Linked DNA regions of Homo sapiens: region 1 is linked to region 2. The links are contacts of gene promoters, found by promoter capture Hi-C in blood cells and fetal thymus (Javierre and others, 2016). All regions are on one chromosome and are shown on one strand. Each heading gives the region's core, a stretch centred on a gene start or on the middle of the fragment in contact. The rest is flanking DNA. Distances are from core to core; before and after follow the strand shown.

Region 1 (7,676 bases), core at 1,202-3,701, 430 kb before region 2:
GGAGTTTGAGACCAGCCTGGCCAACATGGTGAAACCCCATCTCTACTAAAAATACAAAAATTAGCTGGGCATGGCGGCACGCGCCTGTAGTCCCAGCTACTCGGGAGGTTGAGGCAGGAGAATCGCTTGAACCCGGGAGGTAGAGGTTGCAGTGAGCCAAGATCGCACCACTGCACTCCAGCCTGCAAGACAGAGCGAGATTCCGTCTCAAAAAATAAATAAAATAAAAATCCTTTTTTGATAGTTCATGCAAAATGACACCCTAGAAATCTATTAGAATCAGAAAGAACAACACACGTCTTCATGTGTTTATCTGTGTGTAAAGCACAGCTCTTCCTTAAACCAGACTCAGGAGGACACAGAAGGTTCTGAACAGGGACCGTGGCCATCAGTTAAATGTGTGTGACAGGAAGGGTGCTACGGTCTCTTTCACAAATCTGGCTGAGTGGGGGCTTGTCGTTGAACCAAGTTCACACAGGTGTGAAGTGTGGCGGCTGAGCACAGGCACGCAGCCCTGATGTGGGGTGGCGGCTCAGGGCCAGCAGAACCCACCTGTCTGCCCCAAACGTCACGCAAGGCTCCTAACAAGAGACAGCAGTTCCAGCGACACCCTCTGCACCCTGGGCTGCCCCTCACGTGATCGGCTTTATGAATCATAGCTGTTCCATCTGCTTTCCTAAGTTCCCATATTCCTAACATGCATATGCTGTGGGTTAGTCGTATGACTTTCACTGCGTCCCCTCTCTGTAGTGAAACCAGGCACAAGAGCACAAGTGACTGGGTTAGCCCCGGACATAGGATTTGTTGCTGAACCACCTGGTGTCTAAAGATTACATTCCCTTTCTTGGATAACATTTTAAAATGAAATCATTGTGGGCCGGACAAGGTGGCTCACATGTGTAATCCCACCACTATGGGTGGCCGAGGAGGGTGGATCACCTGAGGTCAGGAGTTCAAGACCAGCCTGACCAACATGGTGAAACCCGTTTCTACTAAAAATACTAAATTAGCCAGGCGTGGTAGTGGGCGCCTGTACTCCCAGCAACTAGGGAGGCTGAGGCAGGAGAATTGCTTGAACCCGGGAGGCAGAGGTTGCAGTGAGCCAAGATTGGGCCACGGCACTCCATTCAGCCTGGGTGACAGAACGAGACTCCATCTTTGAAACAAACAAAAAAATGAAATCATTATGGAGGTGATTGTAAATTTGTACGCAGCTTTAAGACACAAGAGAGGGGGGTCTCATGCGCTTTGCCCAGTCTCCTCCAAGGGGGATATTTTGCCAGTCAGGGGCGTGGAGACCCTCCCACAGCGCGCAGTTCCCTCTCCTTTAAATCACTGCTGTCACCGAGCCTTCAGTAACCGTGGGCACCTGCCTGCTTCTGCGGGGTGCTTGGGACTGAGCGGGGGTGGGCAGCGCTGGCGTTTGGGATGCGCAGGAACAGGCGGCCCCGGAACGCGAGGGGGCACGAGAAGGGCACCGGGCTCCGTGCAGGGCCTCGGCCGCTGCACCCTGGCACCCTGGACTCCTGGCTGTTTCGGGGAGTGGGCTGGGGGAGGGCTGAGGGCTCTGAGGAGGAGACTGACCCGGTCTCCCGGCCATGACCACAGGCGCAACGCTTTCCCCTTAGGGCAGGGCGGTCCCTCGGGCCTGACCCAGCCCAGCAGCTTCCCCCTTCCCGGTGTGAGTCACCCTCGGGCCCCGGCCTCTCCCGGTGACCGCCGCGCCCCCCAGCGCGGCCTCGCTTAGCTCAGGTGCGGCCCCCCTGCTCGGCTCCCACCTGCCGGGGCGTTCGCTGGGTCGGGGGCGGCAGGGCGACCCCGTGACGGTCGGGGAGGGGCGCTGGGCCCTCCCCAGGGGCTCGAGGCGGAGGCGTCGCCCGCACCGGCCTCCCCACGCCCCGCTCACCCGCAGCGCGGCCTCGGGGTCCCCGGCCAGCAGGTGCACGCAGCCCGCGTTGAAGCACAGCCTGGCGGGCGGCGCCGGGACGCCCGAGAAGAGGTGCAAGGCGCGGGCCCAGTCCCCACGATCCACAGCCTGCGCGCCCAGGTGCCAGGCGCGCACCAGGTCCCCCAGAGAGGCCATGGCGGCCGGTGGCGGCGCTCGAGGAGGGGCCAGGATCCCGCGGAGGGGCCGGGGCCGGGGCCAGGCGGCGGCGCGGGGCTGCGGGGTCTCCGAGGCGGGCAGAGGTGCGGGCGCCAAGCGCCAGGTGCAACCCCGCTGCCCCGCGGCGCCCCCTGGCGGCAGGCGCCCGCCCCTCCCCGGTAAGGCCACGCCCCCGCCAGAAACGGCTACGCCCACTCCAGACCCTCAGGCCTCGCCCACCTCCCATTCGGCCCCCGCCCCGGCCGGACTTCCGCCGGGAGCTTTGTGCGCCCGGCTTCCTCGCCCCGCCCGCGCTGGCCTTGGTGCGCCGGATAAAGCCCTCCGGGCCAGCGGCTGCGGTCGGGCCAAGGTTCCGCGCCGGGCGTGGACGGTGTGGGGCGGTCCCGGCCCCGCAGGTGAGCGACCCCGGGCCGCGCGGGCCAGGTGGGCGGTCTGGGCGCCGGGGGCAGAGCGGGGCCGGGCCGGGTGCGCGTCCTGAGGTGAGGGCCGTAGCTGGGAGTGAGCCGGGGGCGGGCCGCCGGCTCTCCCGGGGTGGGGAAACTGAGGCCCCGATGGGGCGGGGAAGGTGCGTTCTCCCGCAGGGCCCCGCTCCGGAGGCCGCCGAGCAGCCGGACGCCGCGGGGAGCTGAGCCGACCCCGGCGACCCCGCCGCCCTGTCCCGCAGGGCCTGCCCTCCTCCGCGCCTTCCGAGCACGGACATCACAGGACCCGGAGGCCCTTCGCTCCCTCGCCGAGGAGGAGGCGCTCCCGGTGGGACGCGCGCGCGCCCGCCCTGCCCTCCCCGGGAGAAGGGACGGGCGCCTCCCTGCAGGGGCCCTGGCTTCCTGTCCACCGGCGCTGAGTCCTGTATTAGTTGTCAACCTAAAATAATTAAAAGGGTCAGAATGTGGTGCCCGGTGGGTTTATTCAGGCACAGAGGTCGAGGGCGGCCTGGGTCACCAGGTGCAACGGAGAACAAAACAGAGGCTCAGGTTTTTAAAGAAAACAGAGCCCATCGGAGAGCAGGTGGTTTCGAACGTTGCCCAGGAGCTCACTGGCTTGTAGAAATGGCATTGGTTCGCGATTGACCACGGCTTGGTGTCATCAGTGGATAGTTACTTGGCTCGAGGGGTAGTGAGGGGCTGCGGTTTCATTTGAAATGCTTTCTGGCACTTAACATCAAGCTTTCTGGGCCCACAGTTTAAAAGGGCTTTACATTCCTCAGATAAATGATTTTTTTCTTTCTCATTTGCCCCCCTTTTGATCAAAATCTTTCTTCTTGAAAGCATTGATTATCAAAATCTGAGGGTCAGAGTGTCCCCTCTTGCTGGGAAGGCTCATTCCCACATAGTCCTGTCCCATGCCAAGCAGGGAAGGAGGAGACATTTCAGGGAGTTTTTTTTTTTTTTTTTTTTTTAAGAACACCACAAACTGAATTGGAATGGCATTACAGGGTGGCAAACATGAGGTCTCAGTGAAGTCATTAATTTATACAACTGCTGTCACCTGTTGAATCATCTCTAGTTTTTAGAAACACCATTAATTTTAATTTTCTCAGAAGTAACACATAGGACTATAACCAATTTGTATGCCAGGATGAAAAAAACAAACCTGTTCCATTAGGGAGACAACTAAAAACATGAAGAAACTAAAATCCATGTTCTTCTTTCTTTTTATTTATTTGTTTACTTAGAAATGGGGTCTTGCTCTGTCACCCATGCTGGAGTGCAGAGGCACGATTCCCACTCATCGCAGCCTTGAACTCTTGGGCTTAAATGATCCTCTTGTCTTAGCCTCCTGAGTACCTGGGAATACAGGTGTTTGCCACCAGGACCGGCTAATTTTAAATTTTTTTGGTAGAGACTAGGTCTTGACACCTTGCCCAGGCTAGTCTCGAACTCCTGAGCCCAAGTGATCCTCTCATCTGGGCCTCCCAAAGTGCTGGGGTTATAGGTGTGAACCTCTGCCCAGCCAGGTTCTTCTTTGAGACTTGTAGCCAGAAGATTGTTCAGGATTTAGTCCAGATTGTAGGAAAATAAAAAATACAATGATCAGGGCTAGAATCCAGTAACAGGTATGCTGTAGTTTTTCTCTGAAACATAATTTTTCTCTACTTCCCCATTTCTACCAAAGATAAATCTTGGTAAGACCAATTTACTTGTAAAATAAATTTTAGGATTATATTTGGCCTGATTATTTGCCTAAAGTACAACAGTGGTGATTGGCCATATAGGCTCCTTTCTAAACTGGCTGGAACTTTGCCATAAGGAATTTCAGACTTTTTTTCCCCACATCAGACAGGTAATGTGCTGGCGTCATAACAGCGTTTGAAGGAGACAGACCCTACACATGAGGCAATCATCATGCTTATGAACTACAAGAGGGTCAGAATAGACCTTTAAAAGCCACTTGAGGGCTGGGCATGGTGGCTCATGCCTGTAATCCCAGCACTTTGGGAGGCCAAGGTGGGAGGATTCATTGAGCCCAGGAGTTTGAGACCAACCTGGGCAACATAGCGAGGTCCCTGTCTCCACAAAAAATTTAAAAATTACCTGGGCATAGTGGTGCTCACCTGTAGTCCCAGCTACTCAGGAGGCTGAAATGGGAGGATCGCTTGAGTCCAGGAGATTGAGGCTGCAGTGAGCTATGATCGCACCACTGCACTCCAGCCTGGGTGACAGAGCGAGACCCTGTCTCTAAACAAAACAAACACTTCCCATGTCTAGGAAGCCAAGCCAGTGGCTCCCCATCACAGTGTATGTATAATACCTGTATGAATTTGGGGGGGGGGGTGAATGTCTGTCCTCCAGGTCCCAAACTATCTTGAAGTTCCTGGATCTGTCGGAAAGTGACATTCTTTCCTTACCTCAAGGCCAAGAACCTTTTAAGGGAACTATGTAAACAGGGCACCAGTCCAGTCATCCCAAGGGGCTTTTTATTGGCTCTATAAAGCGAACCTCGATTCCTCAAAGCAGTCTCGTCATATCCAAAAATACGTCATCCCAGTCCAAGCCTTGGTAGAATAACCAGGGTCTCCAATTGTGTCCTGTTACAAGGACAACAGATTCTTACTGAACTCATGCAAAGAACTACATTGCCATAAAATAAGAATACTCATGAATCGCTTCCAGATTTTTGAGAAATCAGGTAGAGAAAAAGACAAATATTTCAGTTTTGCTCACAAAAGTATATGTCACTCAATTGCTATAGCTATAAATAGCTCAAAAAGAAAAAGGTTTTCTGACTCTGGAAAACAAAATATAAAAAGAGTCAGCAAGGTTTCGATAACAACAAAAAATCATAAAAAGCATTTCAGGCCTCTATCAGTTCAGTTCTATGTAATTTGCTGGGGTTTTTTTTGTTTTTTTTTTAGGCGGAGTCTCCCTCTGTCGCCCAGGCTGGAGTGCAGTGGTACAATCTCGGCTCACTGCCAGCTCCGCCTCCCGGGTTCACGCCATTCACCAGCCTCAGCCTCCCGAGTAGCTGGGACTACAGGCACCTGCCACCATGCCCGGCTAATTTTTTTGTATTTTTAGTAGAGATGGGGTTTCACCGTATTAGCCAGGATGGTCTCGATCTCCTGACCTCGTGATCCGCCCGCCTTGGCCTCCCAAAGTGCTGGGATTACAGGCATGAGCCACCGCGCCCGGCCGCTTTTTTCTGTATGATGTTGGGTTAACAATCCTCATGAATGCATCAGCTTTTAAATAAGAGTCCTGGAAGTTTTTATCTGGTCTACTGGTGTGATCTCCCAGGTTATCGGAAGTCTGTATACTTGTCAATGTCCTTTCCATGAATTTCCTTGAAGAAAATGCAAATTTTGGACTGTACCTTATTTTATTTTATTTATTTATTTATTTTGAGATGGAGTCTCGCTCTGTTGCCCAGGCTGGAGTGTAGTGGTGCGATCTTGGCTCACTGCAACCTCCGCCTCCCAGGTTCAAGCGATTCTCCTGTCTCAGCCTCCCAAGTAACTGGGATTACAGGCATGAGCCACCATGCCCAGCTAATTTTGTATTTTTAGTAGAAACGGGGTTTTACCACATTGGCCTGGCTGGTTTCGAACTCCTGACCTCAAGTGATCCACCCGCCTCAGCCTCCCGAAGTGTTGGGATTACAGGCATGAGCCACCGTGCCCGGCCTTAAACTGCATTTTGAGAAGAATCAAAGTAAAACAGTAATTTTCTGCAGATGACAAAAGACTTAGAGTAGCCATGGGTGAAGACGCGATTGGCAGGGAATTTGGTTACTTCTGAGGTTAAAACAGTTTAACATATAATCGTAATCACGACTGATAACATATACCAAGACATGTCAGAATTTTTAGGAATCTCATACAATTTTGGAACATATGTTAATAATACATTTATACCAATATAACTCCAACAGCATTCCACATTTGACAATGCTTCCTGTATGATTTTAACATACCACATAAGCCTCGTACATCTCCCTTGGACTTCTCGGGGTTCCTATTTGTTATATCCAAGTTAGTTCAGGTGAAAAAAACCCTTAATGTTAGGACTTGAAATTTGGTTTTGGGAAGTCAAATATCAGAGGCTTAAAACAATCTCAAAATAGGACCACAGGTCACTGTAAAATAAGCCATTCATTTAATCAAATTGGTAATTCAGAGATTTCCCAAACCAAAAACCTTTACTATGACAGAGAGGAGACTTAGTTTCCCAAGCAATCAATAGACCTACTAAAGACAGCGTGAGGCAAACAGAATGTCTCTCCCTCTTTCCCCTTTTTTTTTTTCTGTTTACTCAGAAGATAAAAATATTTTACAATCTCTTATTACTACACGAAATGTTGTTCAAAAGAAAAACAAACTCTGCTTTTCTTATACATCTCACGTACAGAATTGTTTCTCTTATATTTAGTAGTTTCAGTTACATATATTAATTACAGTGTTAACTTCGTGACCCTAATTTTCCGTTAAAAACTCAGCGAGTAATTTTGAACTGTATGTGTAGATGGAAACCATTTCATCATGTTTTACAGAGATGCATCTCCTAAATTTTTTTGTTAACAGATGTAAATATATTTAGCTTTCCTATGCCATATAAAAATAAGATACTAAAGTATATAAGCTTAAACTTACGCTTAGTAATTAATGTTTCAGTGTTTTACTTAGAAATGACTCAGACGTTTGTTTGTTTGTTGTTTGTTTTTTGAGACAGAGTCTCGCTCTTGTCGCCCAGGCTGGAGTGCAGTGGCGCAGTCTCGGCTCTCACTGCAACCTCTGCTTCCCGGGTTCAAGCGATTCTCCTGCCTCAGCCTCCTGAGTTAGCTGGGACTACAGGTGCATGCCACCACGCCTGGCTAATTTTTGTATTTTTAGTAGAGATGGGGTTTCACCATGTTGGCCAGGCTGGTCTGGAACTCCTGACCTCAGGTGATCCGCCCGCCTCGGCCTCCCAAAGTGCTGGGATTACAGGTGTGAGCCACTGCGCCCGGCCACAAAAGGAGATTAATAGGAGAAGTGGCATCACCCAGGGCACAGACCTCCTGCCAGCCCCGGGGGTCCTCGGCCTCCCAGTGACCGTGCGTCCCCGAGGCTCACCCGTCCCCTCCGTGGTCCCACCCC
Region 2 (7,599 bases), core at 4,165-6,664:
CCTTGACTCCTCACCTGGCAGGAGGAGCGAGGGAGCTCTCCGGGGTCCCTTTTATGAGGGCGCTGATTCTGGTCATCTCGAGGGTGTCACCTTCATGACCTACCCACCTCCAAAAGACCCCGCTTCTTTTTTTTTTTTTTTTTTTTGAGTCTCGATCTGTCACCAGGCTGGAGTGCAGTGGCGCAATCTTGGCTCACTGCAAGCTCCGCCTCCTGGGTTCATGCCATTCTCCTGCCTCAGCCTCCTGAGTAGCTGGGACTACAGGCGCCTGACACCACGCCCGGCTAATTTTTTGTATTTTTAGTAGAGATGGGGTTTCACCATGTTAGCCAGGATGGTCTCGATCTCCTGACCTTGTGATCCGCCTGCCTCGGCCTCCCAAGGTGCTGGGATTACAGGCTTGAGCCACCGCGCCCAGCCAACCCCACTTCTTAACACCATCACCTTGCAGGAGACAGGGTTTTGTTTTGTTTTTTTTTTTTTTTTTGAGACAGAGTCTCGCTTTGTCACCCAGGCTGGAGTGCAATGGAGTGATCTCGGCTCACCGGAAACTTTGCCTCCCAGGTTCAAGCGATTCTCCTGCCTTAGCCTCCCGAGTAGCTGGGATTACAGGCATGTGCCACCACGCCCGGCTAATTTTGCATTTTTAGTAGAGACAGGGTTTCCCCATTTTGGTCTGGCTGGTCTGGAACTCCCAACCTCAGGTGATCCACTCACCTCGGCCTCCCAAAGTGCTGGGATTACAGGCGTGAGCCATGTGCCTGGCCTAGGGGCCAGGGTTTCAACACACAAATTTTGGGGAGGACACATTCAGTCCCTAGCAGAACCCTGGTTCCTTTTAGGGAAGATGGGCTTTGGGACCAGAATCTGAGCTCTGGTCTGCACACTGCTCCCGAGGTCTCGCTGCCCCCGAGGTCCCGCCGCCCCCGAGGTCCCGCCGCCCCCGAGGTCTCGCCGCCCCCGAGGTCACGCCGCCCCCGATGTCTCGCCGCCCCCGAGGTCTCACCGCTCCCGAGGTCTCACTGCTTCTAGGCTCTCTCCATGCACAGAGCAGATAAATCTCTGCACAAGTTTGCACCAATACCCCAATGCCCCCAGCCCTCCGGCCCCCCAAACAGGTGTGTGTCTCCCTTCAGAACAGAGCTGCTCAAATGTCACTGGGGTGTGGCCCTGTGCAGGCGGAGGCAGGAGGATCACTGGAGCCCAGGAGGTGGAGGCTGCAGTGAGCTATGACTGCGCCATTGCACTCCAGCCTGGGTGACAGAGTGAAACCCTGTCTCAAAAAAAAAAAAAAAAAAAAAAAAAAAGAGCCCCTTGGAAGGGGCCTACAGGGAGGGGTGTTGGGGAGGGAGAGAGTTCTAACCCACCAGTCAGTCAGTCCCAGAGCAGCAGCCTCGGGACCTCAGCTTGGGCCCCTCTAACGCTGGCTCTATGAATCAGGAGCAGGGGCTGCAGGGGACGGGAGGTTTAGGGATAACCCCGTGGCCTCGGGGACCAGGGTCTAGTTAAGGTTAGTGGCTGTGATACTGTTCTTACTTCAAAACATTATGAAATTGTGGTAGAAAATGTGGTATTACAAAAATGTGGTAGAAAATGCAAACAGTGTGGACAGACAGGAAGCAAAACTGAAAGCCTGTTTCTGCCTGTCAGGGGTCATCCCACAGACAGCTCCTTGCGTCTTTTTTCAGCTCTGTTCAAGTAGAGACTCAGAATGACAGATCCTAATGCTGATTTTCTTCCATTTCCTGGCTTCTCCCTGCTTTACTTATTAGCTTGCTGGCGCTGCCATGCAAAGGACCACAAAGTGAGGGGTTTAAAACAACAGAAACTGACTTTGGGAGGCCGAGGTGGGCGGATCACTTGAGGTCAGGAGTTTGAGACCAGCCTGACCAACATGGTGAAACCCCGTCTCTACTAAAAATACAAAAATTAGCCAGGCGTGGTGGTGGGCGCCTGTAATCCCAGCTACTCGGGAGGCTGGGGCAGGAGAATCGCTTCAGCCGGTGAGGCGCGGGTTGCAATGAGCCGAGATTGAGCCATTGCACTCCAGCCTGGGTGACAGTGAGACTCCATCTTAAAACAACAACACCGCGGGGCGCGGGAGCTCACGCCTGTAATCCCAGCACTTTGGGAGGCCGAGGCGAGCGGATCACGAGGTCAGGAGATCGAGACCATCCTGGCTAACGCAGTGAAACCCCGTCTCTACTAAAAATACAAAAATTAGCCAGGTGTGGTAGCGGGCGCCTGTAGTCCCAGCTACTTGGGAGGCTGAGACAGGAGAATGGCGTGAACCTGGGGAGGCAGAACTTGCAGTGAGCCGAGATTGTGCCACTGCACTCCAGCCTGGGCGACAGAGCAAGACTGCATCTCATTAAAAAAAAAAAACAAAAAAAACAGAAGCTCACTGCCTAGCAGTCTGGAGGTCAGACATAGCACCTAGGCTTGGGCAGGGCTGCTTCCTCCCAAGGGCCTTGGAGAGCATCCGCTTGGCTCCCAGGCTTACAGATGTGCCACCCTGATTTCTGCCTGCGGCCCTCCCTGTGCATCTGTGTCCAAACTCGCCTTTCTATACTGACATCAGTCATATTGGATCAGGGCACATCCTACTCACCACATTTTAACTTGATAACTTCTATAAAGACCCTATTTCAGCCGGGTGCGGTGGCTCACACCTGTATTCCCAGCATTTTGGGAGGCCAAGGTGGGTAGATCTTCTGAGGTCAGGAGTTCGAGACCAGCCTGATCAACATGGTGAAACCCTGTCTCTACTACAAATACAAGGAAAAAAAAAAAAAGCTCAGCGTGGTGACGTGTACCTGTAATCCCAGCTACTCCAGAGGCTGAGAAAGTAGAATTGCTTGAACCCAGGAGGCAGAAGTTGCAGTGAGCCGAGATTGCACCACTGCATTCCAGCCTGGGCAACAGAGCAAGACTCTGTCTCAAAAAAAATGTTAAAAAGCCCCTGTTTCCACATAAGGTCACATTCTTTATTTTTTTTCCAAGATGGAGTCTTGCTCTGTTGCCCAGGCTGGAATGCAGTGGCACTATCTCTGCTCACTGCAACTCTGTCTCCCGGGTTCAAGCACTTCTCCTGCCTCAGCTTCCCGAGTAGCTGGGATTACAGGTGCCTGCCACTATGCCTGGCTAATTTTTGTATTTTTAGTAGAGACGGGGTTTCACCATGTTGGTCAGGCTGGTCTCAAACTCCTGACCTCAGGTGATCCACCCCCCTCGGCCTCCCAGACTGCTGGGATTACAGGCATGAGTCACCGTGCCCGGCCCATATAAGGTCACATTCTGAGGCACTAGGGGTTAGGACTCCAGCCTAAGAATTTAAATTTAAGGGGACACAAGCCACGCCATTTACCTAATCTCAGGCCCTCCCTGCAGTGGGCATGCATGGAGTCACCTTTTCCGTCCTTCTCCCTGGACACAACTGGAGTCTCCCATAGACAGGGTGGTGGCCGTGCCACGGAGCCACGCCACGCCACGCCACGCCACGCAGTGGGGCAGCCAGCACTCACTTGCCCTTCACAGGGAAACCGGCCGGGTGTGGCAGCTCGCGCCTGTAGTTCCAGCACTGTGGGAGACCAAGGCAGGTGGGTCACTTGAGCCCATGAGGTGGAGACCAGCCTGGGCAACATGGCAGGACCCTGTTTCTAGTAAATAAATGAATTGATTAAACCATAAAAAAAAAAGGAAGCCACCGGGCTGATTCCCAGGTGGCGAGGGCACAGGGGGGTGTTGGATGGCCACTGCCGCTCCACAGTCCACAGCCCACGCCCACAGAACGCAGTGGGGCCGCTGCAGCGGTGAACCGAGTCTTGTTGGTTTGTTTCTTGAGACGGGCGTGAGGTGAATGGTCTTCCTGTGTCTTGTTTTCTTTTTCCTTCTGAGCCACCGGTTCACGGCCTCTGTCCGTGCCGTCATTTTTCCTGTGGGTTTGTGAGGGTGCGTCTGTCGGTGTTAAAGACACAGGATGCCGGGGCAGCAGAGGGGGCTGGGGGCCTGGGGCTTCTCTGTGGTTGGCCATTTGCCTGCCAGGGATGTGGGAAACCAGCAAGCGGAGCTATAACCACAGTGTCCAGAAAGAGCTGAAATACTAGGGCTTGGAATCGAGGTGGAGGCCGGATGGAGGGAAATTGAGGTTCAGGACACCAAAGGATGGGGCAGCCACATGGTATTTCCAAGGCTCTGTGTCCAGGAGCCCCGACTGGCGTGGTATCCAGAGAAGCATCAGGCTGGGCTGACTGGGGCAGCACTGGAGTGTGTTCCACCGGGGACGGATGAGGGGCCCGTACCAAGGCCCTGGGGAGAAGGTGAGCAGGAGAGCAGTGCCACCTCAGCTGCCCTGTCCAGGCTGGTGAGGCACCACACCGCCTGGGGGAGGTGTGGCCAGGCCAATCCTGTGGGCACCCCAGGTCTCTGGGTGGAATCTCCCCTCGGTGTACCTCCCTGGGGCTGCACCCTAAAGCGTCAGGGCCAGGTGGGAGGAAGGCACAGTTGGCGACCCCAAAGGGCCAGACTGAACTGTGGGTTCCAATCACGCCAGGAGGCTCAGCGCAGGCTCACACCTGTGGACCACCACCCTCCCCTGGCCTCTTTCTTCCAGCCACGCAGGCTGTGGCTTCTAACCCCTCTCCTGCTGCTTCTTTTTAAAGGTTAAGGGGTTGGGGGTAAGAAACCTGCGCTGAGCGCCAGTGGGAGGGATGGGAGGTGGGGTGGAGACCTGCACTGCCGGCCAAACACCAAAGCCAGGCTGGCCTCCCCGCCCTGTTGCGGGCAGGTCTGGAATTTGAGCCCTGCCCTGAGCGGGGAGGGCCCTGCCTGACTGCTCCGTAGCTGGGAAGGGGCGGCTCCCCCAGGTGGGCTTATCACCCTCCCGATGCCCTGGTGCTGCAGATGGGGAACTGAAGCCAGGCTGGGCAGGCCATTTCTCCTGCTCACCCACACCCACTGGCTTTCTGGGCTGGGAGCCCTGACAAGGGGTATTTGCGGAAGGGAGAGCCATAGGGCAGGGTCTGAGCTGGGTTCACGGTGGAGGTGGTCCTGACCCAGAGCCGCCCCCTTCCCAGGTGACACCCCCTGCACCCTTCTGGCCTGTAGGCTCTCCCTATGCCCTGCCCCCTGGTCTCCACCCACCACGCTGGCTCCCAGCACACTCAGTACCGGGTGGGCGGATCTCCGTGCACACCAGACTCAAGTCCAGGGCAGCCCCCCACACCATTCCGCCACCCTGAGGTCACACCCTCAGGCTCAGACACCCCGGGGCCGGGCTGGCGTTGCTCAGGCAGCTGGTTCTGCGCGCTGGGCAGCTTCATCTGCCCGCCTAGGTGGCTCCACGGGGCGGGCCCCTCGGCCAGGGAGGGCGGGGCGCACAGGGAGACTTAAAGAGCTCCCCAGGTCCCCACCCGCGCCTGACCGCGGCAGCTCCCACCATGGCGGAGACCAAGCTCCAGCTGTTTGTCAAGGTGCAGGGCGGACTCAGCTGCGGGGAGGGTGTCTGGGAGGAAGCGCTTTTCTGGGCTTTGCTTTCTGTGGCAGGCTGTGGGGTGGGCCTCCCAGTAATGTCTGAGCCCCTTCCTGTGGGTGGCTAGGGGGACTCAGGCAGCCCTACAGAGGCTGAGTAAAGTGGGACCCAGCGAGTCACCCAGAGAGGGGTCAGTGGCCCTGGTCCTGCTCCCAGCCTTGGCTCCTGGGCCCAGCCCAGTCTTCTGGAGGAGAGCTCCTTGGTGGGGAGGTACCAAGCAGGCTGCCAACAGTGGAGCTTACGGTCGGTGTTCCAGGATGGGGGGTGCTGGGCCAGGCAGCCCCATCAGCTCTCAGGTCGGGGACTGGGGTGGGGGACTGATGTGCTGTTGGCCACAGTGCCCAGTCTCATGTGTGAATCACTCAGAAAACAGCTTGTGAGGCCCACCCCACCCCTGCAACCAGCTTTTGGGGACTGAGCCCAGGGGCCTGGCCTCTGTCCAGGCTCTGACAAGATTCCAGGGGCCAAGCCTGCCCCAGGCCTCAAGGCTCCCAGCAGCTCTGCCCCCCTCCCCACGTTCTGGGGACCAAGTCAAGGGCCCTCACTGGGCACTTGGAAGTCGCGCCGACCAAGCTGGAGCCCTGGCGTCCCTCCAATCCCACTGGCAGTGGGAGGCGGGTCCCGCCCAGCCTGGCGGCAGGATGCCTGGGTCTGCTTCCAGCCCTGACCCCCCACCCCCGCTCCACCCACCCAGGCGAGTGAGGACGGGGAGAGCGTGGGTCACTGCCCCTCCTGCCAGCGGCTCTTCATGGTCCTGCTCCTCAAGGGCGTACCTTTCACCCTCACCACGGTGGACACGCGCAGGTGAGGCCCCATCCTGTGGACCCCCGCCTGGCCTCGCACACTGGTGGGCCGGCCTCCTCCCACCCCGCTGCTGCCCGCAGGTCCCCGGACGTGCTGAAGGACTTCGCCCCCGGCTCGCAGCTGCCCATCCTGCTCTATGACAGCGACGCCAAGACAGACACGCTGCAGATCGAGGACTTTCTGGAGGAGACGCTGGGGCCGCCCGAGTGAGAGCCCCGGCAGGGTGGGAGGGGAAAAGAGGGGGGCCCAGGGAGGACGCGCGCAAGACAGAGCCCAGGAAGGCGCTGTGGGGGTACTGTGGGGCCGGGACGGGGCTGCCCCCAGTCTAATGGAGTCCCACCCCCTCATCCCGCAGCTTCCCCAGCCTGGCGCCTCGTTACAGGGAGTCCAACACCGCCGGCAACGACGTTTTCCACAAGTTCTCCGCGTTCATCAAGAACCCGGTGCCCGCGCAGGACGAAGGTGAAGCGGGGTCAGGGGGTCGGGTGCCCAGGCGGGAGGGCGCCCTGGGCCTGGTCCTCACCGCGCCGCCTGCCCCCTAGCCCTGTACCAGCAGCTGCTGCGCGCCCTCGCCAGGCTGGACAGCTACCTGCGCGCGCCCCTGGAGCACGAGCTGGCGGGGGAGCCGCAGCTGCGCGAGTCCCGCCGCCGCTTCCTGGACGGCGACAGGCTCACGCTGGCCGACTGCAGCCTCCTGCCCAAGCTGCACATCGTCGACGTGAGCACGGAAGGTGGGCGGGCGGGAGGGTGACCGCGGCGCGCCTGGGGGACGGCAGGTCCTGACCGCGCCCCGCGATCCTGCCCGCAGACGGTGTGCGCGCACTTCCGCCAGGCGCCCATCCCCGCGGAGCTGCGCGGCGTACGCCGCTACCTGGACAGCGCGATGCAGGAGAAAGAGTTCAAATACACGTGTCCGCACAGCGCCGAGATCCTGGCGGCCTACCGGCCCGCCGTGCACCCCCGCTAGCGCCCCACCCCGCGTCTGTCGCCCAATAAAGGCATCTTTGTCGGGAGTGAGGGTGTCCTGACATCTGAAGGGCCAGAGGTCTCGGGATCACTTCCCATCCCCAAACCCCAGGGTGGGACGCTCAGCCCGATAGCCCAGAACCACAGGGGCAGGAGCGCCGGGGGTCGGGCCGGTCCCATCCTCCACGCTAAGAAGGCGCAGACTCCAGGCCTCCTGCAACCGGTGGCCTCAGGGATCTCCAGGACCGGACTGGGCTCCCAAACCAGTCAGGCCGGGGTGGGGCGGGGTGCCCCAGGTG

Evidence for each region. Contacts are between HindIII fragments. The CHiCAGO score rates a contact against its expected background, and 5 or more counts as called.
Region 1: a contact is called between the fragment with the promoter of EXD3 here and the fragment with the promoter of CLIC3 in region 2, in 1 of 17 cell types (M0 macrophages). The highest score is 8.6, in M0 macrophages.

Annotation. Positions count from the first base shown.
Region 1 is chr9:137,417,937-137,425,612 of GRCh38, reverse strand. It overlaps EXD3 (exonuclease 3'-5' domain containing 3), which reads left to right and starts at 2,451. Exons shown (of 22, transcript NM_017820.5): 1 at 2,451-2,499. NOXA1 (NADPH oxidase activator 1) reads right to left here and starts at 2,220. Exons shown (of 14, transcript NM_001256067.2): 1 at 1,907-2,220. The coding sequence starts at 2,083. It also overlaps the pseudogene LOC124902354. RefSeq lists silencers at 1,990-2,549, 2,570-2,709, 2,720-2,859, 7,647-7,676 and an enhancer at 7,402-7,676. The HindIII fragment of the contact is 6,751 bases long and covers 1-3,269 here.
Region 2 is chr9:136,994,383-137,001,981 of GRCh38, reverse strand. It overlaps CLIC3 (chloride intracellular channel 3), which reads left to right and starts at 5,414. Exons shown (of 6, transcript NM_004669.3): 1 at 5,414-5,471; 2 at 6,225-6,334; 3 at 6,415-6,540; 4 at 6,690-6,796; 5 at 6,877-7,052; 6 at 7,143-7,374. The coding sequence starts at 5,439. The coding sequence ends at 7,301. RefSeq lists an enhancer at 1,697-1,816. The HindIII fragment of the contact is 14,896 bases long and covers 1-7,599 here.